2 separate regions of the Homo sapiens genome follow, and region 2 is linked to region 1. The links are contacts of gene promoters, found by promoter capture Hi-C in human tissues and cell types (Jung and others, 2019). All regions are on one chromosome and are shown on one strand. The core of a region is centred on a gene start or on the middle of the fragment in contact, and the rest is flanking DNA. Distances in the headings are between cores, read along the strand shown. Region 1 holds the start of KRTAP5-3 (keratin associated protein 5-3). Region 2 overlaps LINC01150 (long intergenic non-protein coding RNA 1150).

The links. The method cuts DNA at HindIII sites, captures the fragments that hold promoters and counts their contacts. A contact is called where the count stands out against the background at its distance.
Region 2: a fragment that was not itself captured here is called in contact with the fragment with the promoter of KRTAP5-3 in region 1 in 2 of the 25 tissues and cell types used here (heart left ventricle and liver).

What each region holds. Positions count from the first base shown.
Region 1 is chr11:1,605,433-1,611,210 of GRCh38, reverse strand. It overlaps KRTAP5-3 (keratin associated protein 5-3), which reads left to right and starts at 2,748. Exons shown (of 1, transcript NM_001012708.2): 1 at 2,748-3,646. The coding sequence starts at 2,826. The coding sequence ends at 3,542. The HindIII fragment of the contact is 8,426 bases long and covers 1-5,778 here.
Region 2 is chr11:1,899,112-1,904,931 of GRCh38, reverse strand. It overlaps LINC01150 (long intergenic non-protein coding RNA 1150), which reads right to left. Exons shown (of 4, transcript NR_120534.1): 2 at 2,208-2,342; 3 at 1,676-1,828. It also overlaps a transcript of PRR33 not described here. Among named protein-coding and RNA genes, the nearest start is that of LINC01150, 5.3 kb to the right of the region's middle. The HindIII fragment of the contact is 4,546 bases long and covers 1,915-5,820 here.

The DNA of each region.
Region 1 (5,778 bases), core at 1,499-3,998:
CGATGCCTCACATTTGAAAAGCCGCTGGCTGGTACTGACAGGCCTGGGGCAGCGGACACTCTCAGGCATTGCTGGGGAGGGGGAAAGCAGCATGAGCATTTGGAAAGCTGTCTGTTTCTTAGCAAGTTAAGCATACACTACTCTATGGTCTAGCAAGGCCAGTCCTCAATATTTGACCAAAAAATTAAAACTAAAAACATGAATACGGAAGGACTGGAAGGCATGATTATGTGTTATTCATCATCGCCCCAAACTGTGAACGATTCAAATATGTATGAACGTGAGAACGGGGGAACGCAGTGGAGAATATTTTTACATGGAATAAGGGGGGCCCCACCCCTCATATTTTCTTATGCCCAATTTCTGTCTCCAAAGAAAAAAGAAGTAAAAACTAAATCCACAGGCAGACAGCCCGGTGCCACACCCTGGGCCTGGTAGTTAAAGATTGACCCCTGACCTAATCGGTTATATTATCTATAGATTCCAGACATTGTATGGAAAAGCATTGTGAAAATCCCTGTCCTGTCCTGTTCCGTTCTGATTGCCGGTGCATGCAGCCCCCAGTCACGTACCCCCTGCTTGCTCAATCGATCACGACCCTCTCACACAGACCCCCTTAGAGTTGTAAGCCCTTAAAAGGGACAGGAATTGCTCACTTGGGGAGCTTGGTTTTTGGAGACCTGAGTCTGCCAATGCTCCCAGCTGAATAAAGCCCTTTCCTTCTACAATTCAGTGTCTGAGGGGTTCTTGTCTGCGGCTCGCCCTGCTACAGAAACACTATGCGGTGATTACAAAAGAAGAAGAAGGCCAGGCGTGGTGGCTCATGCCTGTAATCCCAGCACATTGGGAGGCTGGGGCAGGTGGATCGCTTGAGCCCAGGAGGTCGAGGCTGCAGTGAGCCATGAGCGCACCACTCTGCACTCCAGCCTGGGTGACAGAGCAAGACCCTGTCTCAAAAAAAAAAAAAAAAAAAAAAAAAGAAGAAGAGCAAATCATTGACACACAGAATAACATCGTGAGGGAAAGAAACCAGAGTACATTTTTAATGATTTCATTTTTGCAACATTCAACAACAGGCACAACTGGTCAGCAGAGCTGTGCCTGGAGCGATGGGCAGGAAGGGAAGGCGGCGAAAGGGAAACTTCTGGGGGTGAAGCAGTTGGTCATGGTTGGAGTGATGGGCACACGAGTACATGTTTAGCGGAACTCATGGAATTGTACACTCAAAATATGTGCAGAGCCCAGGAGACCAAGGCTGCAGTGAGCTAGGATCACACCACTGCCCTCCAGCCCGGGCGACAGAATGCGACCCCGTCTCAAAAAAAAAAAAAAAAAAATGCAGCCCAAGCCTGGTGGCTCATGCCTGTAATCCCAACACTTTGGGAGGCCAAGGCAGGTGGATCACCTGAGGTCAGGGGTTCGAGACCAGCCTGGCGAACATAGTGAAACCCCGTCTCTACTAAAAATACAAAATTAGCTGGGTGTGGTGGTGGGTGCCTGTAATCCCAGCTACTTGGGAGGCTGAGGCAGGAGAATTGCTTGAACTCGGGAGGCAGAGGTTGTAGTGAGCTGAAATTGCATCACTGCACTCCAGCCTGGGTGACAGAGGGAGACTCAGAAAAAAAATTTTTTTTCACTGCATGTAAATTTTACCTTAATAAAAAATTAAAATTTGGCTGGGTGCAGTGGCTCACACCTGTAATCCCAGCACTTTGGGAGACTGAGGCGGGTGGTTCACCTGAGGTCAGGAGTTCGAAACCAGCCTGCCCAACATGGTGAAACTCTGTCTTCACTAAAAATACAAAAAAATTAGCCAGGCCTGGTGGTGGGCGCCTGTAATTCCAGCTACTGGGGAGGCTGAGGCAGGAAAATTGCTTGAACCCAGGAGGCAGAGATTGCAGTGAGCCGAGATTGCGTCACTGCACTTTAGCCCTGGTGACAAGAGCGATACTCCTTCTCAAAAAAAAAATATTAAAATTAATCTTTTAGAAAATAAAAGTGTGTTAGAGAGGTTGGCTAATCAAAATTTTTGTAGCCTTCAAGAAGAATAAACTTGAAGAATATCCATTGATTTGTAGAATTTTTACAAAGAATTAATAGAGGAAAACTCAAAAGCATTAGAAAGGGTCCTGTTCCTCTGTTCCCTCTGTGAGCCCAGCTTGCCTGAAGGGAACGTGGGTCTAATCCGTGTCTGGAGGAGTGAGCCAAACCGCAGGAGGAAGAGGTAAGAAAGACAAAGGAGAACCAGGGCCACACTCAAATCCATGCTCTTCAAAACTTTGTTTTACAGATTTGACAAAATATTTATACTTGAAGTTTTTAAGCGGTGGAACCTATAGACAGCCTTTCTTTCAGCTTATTTTTTTAATTTTTATTTTATTTTATTTTTTACCAAATGACCATCCTTGATATAAACACCAATGCCAGGGGGTGGAGGGTCTGCATCGCTGAGGAGAGCCCTGAGCACCAAGGACAATGGTCCACCCTTCGGCCAAGCAACCACCGCCTCCCAGGCTCCTGGGACACCCACTGGAGAGGGAGCCCAGTGTCTTCTAACAAAGGGAAACACCTATGAGGAAGAGGCCAAATTTAGAAACCAAGGAAAGGACAGCTTGGCTTGAGCTGATGGTGGCTCATGGGATTGTGGAGAGATTAAAAATAACACTTGTGCATGTGAAATAGCAGAAACAACAACAGAAGTATTCACGTGTTCAGTATAAACACCTGGGCAGGAATATAAAGAGCCCGGGCTCAGAGAACTCCACACCTGCACACCTCCCTCTCACCTGCTCCTCTACCTGCTCCACCCTCAACCCACCAGAACCATGGGCTGCTCTGGCTGCTCTGGAGGCTGTGGCTCCAGCTGTGGGGGCTGTGGCTCCAGCTGTGGGGGCTGTGGCTCCGGCTATGGGGGCTGTGGCTCCGGCTGCTGTGTACCTGTCTGCTGCTGCAAGCCCGTGTGCTGCTGTGTGCCAGCCTGTTCCTGCTCCAGCTGTGGCTCCTGTGGGGGCTCCAAGGGGGTCTGTGGCTCTTGTGGGGGCTGCAAGGGGGGCTGTGGCTCCTGTGGAGGCTCCAAGGGGGGCTGTGGCTCCAGCTGCTGTGTGCCCGTCTGCTGCTCCTCCAGCTGTGGCTCCTGTGGGGGTTCCAAGGGGGTCTGTGGATTTCGTGGGGGCTCCAAGGGGGGCTGCGGTTCTTGTGGCTGCTCCCAGTGCAGCTGCTATAAGCCCTGCTGCTGCTCCTCAGGCTGTGGGTCATCCTGCTGCCAGTCCAGCTGCTGCAAGCCCAGCTGCTCCCAGTCCAGCTGCTGTAAGCCCTGCTGTTCCCAGTCCAGCTGCTGTAAGCCCTGCTGCTGCTCCTCAGGCTGTGGGTCATCCTGCTGCCAGTCCAGCTGCTGCAAACCCTGCTGTTCCCAGTCCAGCTGCTGTAAGCCCTGCTGCTGCTCCTCAGGCTGTGGGTCATCCTGCTGCCAGTCCAGCTGCTGCAAGCCCTGCTCCTCCCAGTCCAGCTGCTGTGTCCCAATTTGCTGCCAGTGCAAGATCTGAGGCTCTGCCCACAAACCTCAGTGGGTCCTACAGATCCGGGCTCTCCAGGAATGATTGCAGCTGTGTCCTGAATTCCTGAAGCACGTCTCTGAATCTGTCCTCCTCTGGACTAAGGCAGCCTAGCGTCCAGGGCTCAGTACTCAGCCGCTCAGCCTCTGAGGTCATGAGGGCTTCTGGCATGCTGGGTCCTGCCCATCAACCCTCCCGGAATCCCGTCTTCCTTTCCTGACCCCACCACTTCAACCTTCTCAGGGCTTCAAGATCCCACATCCCTGGGCCCCTCCTGTGAGCCTGCTGGAAACACGCTGACACTGGAATCCTCCGACCTGCTGCCGCCTCTCCCCGGTCCCCGCAACCTCCTGGCTCCTCCCCGCTTCGTCTTCATCCTGCCTGAGCTGCCACCGCTCCGATTGCTTTTGGAGTTGACCTAGAGGACTCGGAATTATTGGAGACCCCAGGATCCTCTCCTGAGGAGGAGGGGCGCCCAGTCTCCTCTTCTACCTCCGACCTGGCCCTGTTTCTTTCCCCAGGGCTTCGCCTTGTAAGTGCCTAGGCTAGATCTTCTAAATAAATACGATCTGCACCTCCCACGAGTTTGCATTGTGATTCTTTTGTTTCAACTTCTGTGTGATTAGAGAAATGTACACTTTCCACAGAGTTGCACTCCCAGGCATTTGGGAACCCCCCGTACCCTGCTGTGTGAGTTTGCTAGGGCTGCTCCACAAACCGTGTGGCTTAAGCAACAGGAGTGGATTGTCTCACAGTCTGGAGTCCGGAATCCGCCATCGAGGTGCCTCAGGGCCGGGTCCTCCTGAGGCCTCCCTCCGTGGCTTACTGATGCCGCCATCCCTATATCCTCACGTACTCATCCCTCTGTGTGTGTCTGCGTCCTCATCTCTTTGCATAAGGACACAGATTAGACTAGGGCCCACCCTACTCCATTAGGTCCATGTTTGAACTAATCACCCCTGTAAAGACCTATCTTCAAATAAGGTGCCATTCTGAGATACTGCGTTGAGGACTCCAACATATGAACCAGGGGGCACAACTCAGCCGTGGCATCCACTTGGCTTGGGGCGTCTCCGTCTTTCCCATCTTCCAGGATACAGAATTGGGAGGCCCCTTGGGCTTCTCTCCCCCACAAGTCGCCAAATCCCTCAGCATCTCCTGGAAGGCTTCCTACAGACATCTATTTCCTGCCTCCTTGTGACACCTCCCTACACAGACTTCTGATTCAGGTGCCCACCTGTCCCTTCCCTGCTGCCTCTGTCAGCTGGGGCTGCCAGAACAAAACCCACAGAGTAAGCCTGGAAGACGGAACAACAGACACCATTTCTCCCAGTTCCGGAGGCTGGAGGGCCTAGACCAAAGTCCAGCATGTTCGACTCATGGGGAGGGAAGGCAGGAGCTGGCGGAGGAGGAGGTGGGCTGCAAGGCTGGAGCCCCCAGACCCAGGCGTCTGTAACAGCAGAGCGCTGGAGGCTGCTCGGGAAGCCACCGTCTCACAGGATGGTAGGCAGTGAGTGCCTGGCGGAACTGCGACAAGAAAGTGAAAACTCAACAACACGGAAGTTTCAGAAATTGCTTCTGAGTTTCTGTTTCGGTAGTAAGGTTGACTAGACACTATTCACAACCCTGAAACTTCTAAAAGGACATGGTGAAACCCCGTCTCCACTAAAAATACAAAAATTAGCCAGGCATGGTGGTGGGCGCCTGTATCCCAGCTACTTGGGAGGCTGACGAAAGAGAATTGCTTGAACCCAGGAGGCGGAGGTTGCAGCGAGCCTAGATCGCACCACTGCATTCCAGCCTGGGCGACAGAGCTAGACTCTTTCTCTAAATAAATAAATAAATAAATACATAAGTAAGTAAATAAATAAAGCTTTAAAGTGCTATGTTTAAAGCATATATATTTTTTTTAAGTCACTGAGCTGTTGAAAAACTAAATAATCCTCAGAGCCAACAAGCAAGAGAGAGCTGGACCCACAGAGGAAGGTGAAAGTCAAAAACGGCCTCCACCCCATGGCTGGACCAGAAAGAGGCCCTGTCTGTTTTCTTCCACCTGTGTTATTGGAAAAAAATATTTGACAAGGAAACATACACCAAACCCAGCTCTTTTGTTTAAAAGCCAATTGCAAAAACACAGAACGAGTGACCTGGTTTAATGGTGGCTAAGAACGATAGAAAAAGGGCCTGGTCTATCTGAGTTAAATTTGAGCTCAGGATGAGGCTAGGG
Region 2 (5,820 bases), core at 2,938-5,437, 290 kb before region 1:
AAACCTTTAGCCAACTTGATGGGGAAGGGCCCGGGGAAAGGAGGAGAAGGATAGAAATTACCGATATCAGGAACAAGAGAGGCAGCGGGAGTACAGGTTCTGCAGAGATTAAAAGAATAAAGAGGCTGGGCGCAGTGGCTCTCGCCTGTAATCCCAGCACTTTGGGAGGCTGAGGTGGGTGGATCACCTGAGGTCAGGAGTTCGAGACTAGCCTGCCCAACATAGTGAGACCCCCATCTGTACTAAAAATGCAAAAATTAGCTGGGTGTGGTGGCACGCTGGTCTCGAATTCCTGGCCTCAAGTGATCCACCTGCCTCAGCCTCCCAAAGTGCTGAAATTACAGGTGTACAGATGTAAGCCATTGCACCTGGCCTTAAATTTCTTCTTTTTTTTTTCTTTTTTGAGATAGAGTCTTGCTCTGTCGCCCAGGCTGGAGTGCAGTGGTGCCACCTCTGCTCACTGCAACCTCCGCCTACCAGGTTCAAGCAATTCTCCTGCTTCAGTCTCTGGAGTAGCTGGGATTACAGGCATGCACCACCATGCCTGGCTAATTTTTTGTATTTTAGTAGAGACGGGGTTTCACCGTGTTGCCCAGGCTGGTTTTGAACTCCTGAGCTCAGGCAATCCACCCGCCTCGGCCTCCCAAAGTGCTGGGATTACAGGCGTGAGCCACTGCGCCCGGCCAAGTTTTCTCTTTAAACGGATGGCATCAGAAGTGGATCTGGCGTAGAGCTTCCAGCGGCCCCCAGGAGCTCTGACTGACCAATGGAGGACCCACAGGGCCCACTGTGCCCTCTGCTCTCTCAGAGCAGCTGGGGATCGTGGGAAGTTCTCTCTTGGATTCCAAAGCTCCATGGATGTGTGTTTTGAGCCATCTGAGTTTGCTTGAGCAAATTTTTTTATCTAAGCTGGGTTCAGAAGTCGTGACAGAAACTGGACTGGGTCCAGGATGGAATCTGATTTGATCATTCACTGGCTTGGATGCAGTTAGAGGCCTTGTGTGTCTTGACTGGGTCAGGCGGAAACTGGCTGTAAATGGCAGGGCTGCAGGAGGTGCACACTCCAGCTTTTGGACATTCACAAGGATGTTCGTGTTCTACTCTCTTGGTTTCTTTTTCTTGCACACTAAGGCAGGGAAAAATCATTGCTCAGTTGATCACGAGGATCTAAGAGCCAAAGCCAAGATTTAATGTAAAATGGGATCCTTCATCTCTGAAAAACCGAGCACCTTCTGGCTCGTATGTCCGTACGTGTTAGGTCCCGGACGCGGCAGATGTTTACAGAAATGGTGGCATCTTACTAAAGGTGAATGAAAATTACGGTGGGATGTTCCAAGTGAACACCACTGCACTTTAAGAAGTGCACCTAAAAACAAGGGCTCCTAATTAGCCTCATCAGGGATGCCAATTGATGTGAAGAAGCTTCTAAAATGATTTCAGTATTTTTACTCCCTCTTTTAAAAGTGTCTGCACAAAAGGCAAATGAGGCCTGGCAAGGTGGCCCATGCCTGTAATTCCAGCACTTTGAGAGGCCAAGGTGGGAAGATTGCTTAAGCCCTGGAGTTTGAGACCAGCCTGGGCGATACAGTGAGACACCCGCCCCCCACCCCCCGCTCCACAGCTCCCCACTATCTCTACGGAAAAAAAAAAATTAGCCAGGCACGGTAGCACTCACCTGTAGTCCCAGCTGCTTAGGAGGCTGAGGCGGGAGGCAGAGGCTGTGTCTGAGGCGTGTGAACCAGAGCGACTCCATCTTGAACAGGGGCTGGGTAAAATGAGACTGAGTCCTACTGGGCTGCATTCCCACATGGTCAGGCATTCTAAGTCACTGGATGAGACAGGAGGTCGGCACAAGATACAGGTCATAAAAACCTTGCTGATAAAACAGGTTGCAGTAAAGAAGCCGGCTAAAATGCACCAAAACCAAGATGGTGACGAGAGTGACCTCTGGTCGTCCTCACTGCTACACTCCCACCAGCACCATGACAGTTTACAGATGCCGTGGCAACGTCAGGAAGTTACCCTGTATGGCCTAAAAAGCAGGGGTGGGGGGCATGAGTAATCCACCCCTGGTTTAGCATCTCATCAAGAAATAACCAAAAAATGGGCAACCAGCAGCTCTCGGGGCTGCTCGGTCTATGGAGTAGCCATTCTTTATTCCTTTACTTTCTTAGTAAACTTGTTTTTGCTTTGCGCCGTGGACTCACCCTGAATTCTTTCTTGCACAGGATCCAAATCCAAGAACCCTCTCTTGGGGTCTGGATCAGGACCCCTCTCCTGTAACAATTGCAGTGAGCTATGATGGCACCACTGCACTCCAGCCTGGGTGACAGAGCAACACCCTGTCAAATAAGATAAAGACAAAATAAGATCATAAATATAAATTAATTAAGACAAAGAAAAAGCTTAAGTGACCAATTGATAAGAAAAAATGAATCTGCTGAGCTTTTGGCCTGGTTACTATCCCATACAGAAAGCTATCCTAGATGAAGTGTGTCTAAAAGGTCTCTCAGATCCAGCAGGCTTTACTTCAGATCCACCCACGCTGAGCCCAGGCCGAGGGAAGCCTTTCTTTGCCTTATTCCTTAATGGGTCCCACCCTGTACTCAGTAATTTCAGCTAAGAAGCAGTAGCCACATTAGAAGGACCACCTATCCACAGGTTGGTGTGAAAGTAATTGTGTGTTTTTTTTTTTTTTTTGAGATAGAGTCTCACTCTGTCGCCCAGGCTGGAGTGCAGTGGCGCGATCTCTGCTCACTGCAAGCTCCGCCTCCCGGGTTCAGACCATTCTCCTGCCTCAGCCTCCCGAGTAGCTGGGACTACAGGCGCCCGCCACCACGCCCGGCTAACTTTTTGTATTTTTAGTAGAGACGGGATCTCACCATGTTAGCCAGGATGGTCTCGATCTCCTGACCTCATGATCCACCCGCCTCGGCCTCCCAAAGTGCTGGGATTACAGGCGTGAGCCACCGCGCCCGGCCATAATTGTGGTTTTTGCAATTACTTTTCAACCAGCCTAATAACTAAAATGCACCTTTCTGACATTCAACGGCTACCTTGAAACCATTTTGTGAAAGAAATTTACATCTCCACAAGACATTTCCATTTGCAACGTCTGGGAGGGACATCCCTTTGTTTTAAATTTACGTAACAAGTCTTACCTTTGTTTAACGTGTTTTTCCTGGCCATGTTGTCTTCACTGGGCCTTGCTTTTTTCTTGGTTGAGCAAATGATGATGGTACAGTATTTAAGCTGAAAGTCTCAGCTTAAATAGCTTTTCATATATACATTTTCTGCCTTGTTTCACCTAAGAGTTATCTTTTTTGAAGGCAAATTGTTCCCTAGCTAACGATTGCTTAGGATGATAAAACAAGTAATTAGAAGATTGATAGTCTAAAGGGGGAAAAGAAAACTATTTGAAAGCTGGCAAATGAAAATTCTTTCTGAAATCTGTAAGATCTGTTTCTATCTGTGTCTGTTATGACTATATGTCTCTCTGTATGACATGTATCTGATAATATTTAGGAAAAAGCTGAAACCACCTTTGCATTGTCTCTTTGACTGAGACGGTGAGAGACATCTAACTTAATTGACTCCATCTTGCCTTTTTTTTTTTTTAGAGGTGGTGTTTTGCTCTTGTCGCCCAGGCTGGAGTGCAATGGCGTAAACTTGGCTCACCACAACCTCTGCCTCCTGGGTTCAAGCGATTCTCCTGCCTCAGCCTCCCAAGTAACTGGGATTACAGGCATCTGCCACAACGCCCGACTAATTTTGTATTTTTTTTAGTAGAGATGAGGTTTCACCATATTGGCCAGGCTGGTCTGGAACTCCTGACCTTGTGATCTGCTCACCTCGGCCTCCCAAAGTGATGGGGTTACAGGCGTAAGCCACCGTGCCTGGCCCTTCCATCTTGCTTCTAACCTCCTTGCTTATTCCTGTCCTTGCTTATTCCTGGGAGTAGGCTGAACTAACTTTGGGAGAAACTTAGTTTATAGTTTAAAACAAAGACGATAACAGCCTTTCCCAGTGGAGAGAGCTACTAAGGGCCCCTATAGTATCCAAAAAAGAGAGAGACAGAAGTATTTGATAAATTAAATTACATGGGAAGCACTGCCAAATAAGAAATGATGTTTAACCTTATTTGAGATATTGTTTGTGAATACGTCATTAATATATGCTCCAAAATTGTATGGGGTTCCTAAAATTCTGATACATCCGGGTATATGCTGTCACTCTTAATTACAGTTAAGTTATTGTAGGCCACAGAAGTAATCAAAATTCCTTGTCAGTTCTTCTTTAACCATGACCATTTTACGTCATTTCCAGAGTTAATTGCTTTTTTCTGACGTTTCTGAAAACTCACAAACACACACAGTCCTACAATATTGAGTCCTCCAGGAGGTTCGTGAAAGGAGAGAAAGGACCCTGATAAGCCCTCTTGAATAGGCTTCTGATAACTTTAGTGTAATGTCATTTGGACTGGGTAAAAATTCCCGGAACTCTAATGGAAAGATTGACTGGTTTATAAAATTGCTAACCTGGGCAGGACAAAAATTAATTGAATACCAAGAAAACACTTTGCCAGCTTTTCATGCTAAATCAGCCAGTACTGATATTGTTTAGATACCCAATTTGAATTAAATCCATCGTCCAAGTCAAATTACCTATGATAACCCTTCTAATAAACAGTGCTATGCACCTGAACTGGAGAAACAAAATTGGTATTTAAGAAGATATAAGTCCAGCATCAAGCATGGACACATGGACAGCCAAGATGGCCACCTGGTCCTTCCTGTGTCCTTGAAGCTTCCACTATTAAATGCTCTGCACTCCATGATTCATCATGGAAGAGACAAATTAATCCAAATTTTATATATATATGTATATATAATATACATATATATATTTGACATGGTGACCGTTGTAAGTTGTTAAAATGGTTTACGACCAATGTTTGGTCTGCCAAACCCATAATCCTGGGAGGACAATCGAAACTTCCATTACACTTCTGCTACTTGATGGGCCATTGAAACATTGCTGGAGGGATTTCCTTCAATTGTCATTTTCAATGCGTGTTTTCTGGTTATATAGAAGCTTTCCCAGGCAAGAGCACTGATGTTATAGCAGTAGCTAAAAGATTATTAGAAAATTGTTTTTCTCATGGGACGTCCCTTGAGAAATCTCCCATGATAGATGTACTTGTTTCACTGCTCAAGTGGTAAAACTGTTAATAACTTGTTACAGATACAATAATATTAAGCAAGGGAAATGAATGAACTGGGCTGCCTTGGTCAAGGGTGTTGCAGGTGGATGGCCGTCGGGTCCATTTCCAGTGGAAAACATAAGTTGGTGCCTTATGAAATAGTCCCTGGAAGTCCTATATAGAACCTCATGTATCTTCCACTCCTCAACTCCGATATGGCTAAAGGCTCCTAGGCCTTAATGCATTATGCCTAAGTATATTTTCACCAGGTACAGAAAGCTTTTCATGGTCCACTGAGGACCCTATCAAACGCTTCACAATCTAGAACCCAGACATTTGGTTTTCTGAGAGTATCACAGAAAGACTGCCCTTGCCACCCACACTGCAGTGAAATTCTAGGACTTTGAACCCTGGGTTCGTTATCTCACCGCTCAAGAGGGCATCGCCAGACTCCAGCAACTGCAGCCCCATTGGAGATTTTAAGGTAAAGCTAATCAGGGAAGTTTCTCCCCAGAAGCAGCTGGCATCCCAGATATGGACAGCTTTTTCCCAAGAACTTGAGACTGTCATGCCTCTGAATAATAGAACTAAAAAGGGATCTCTTATGTGCACTCATG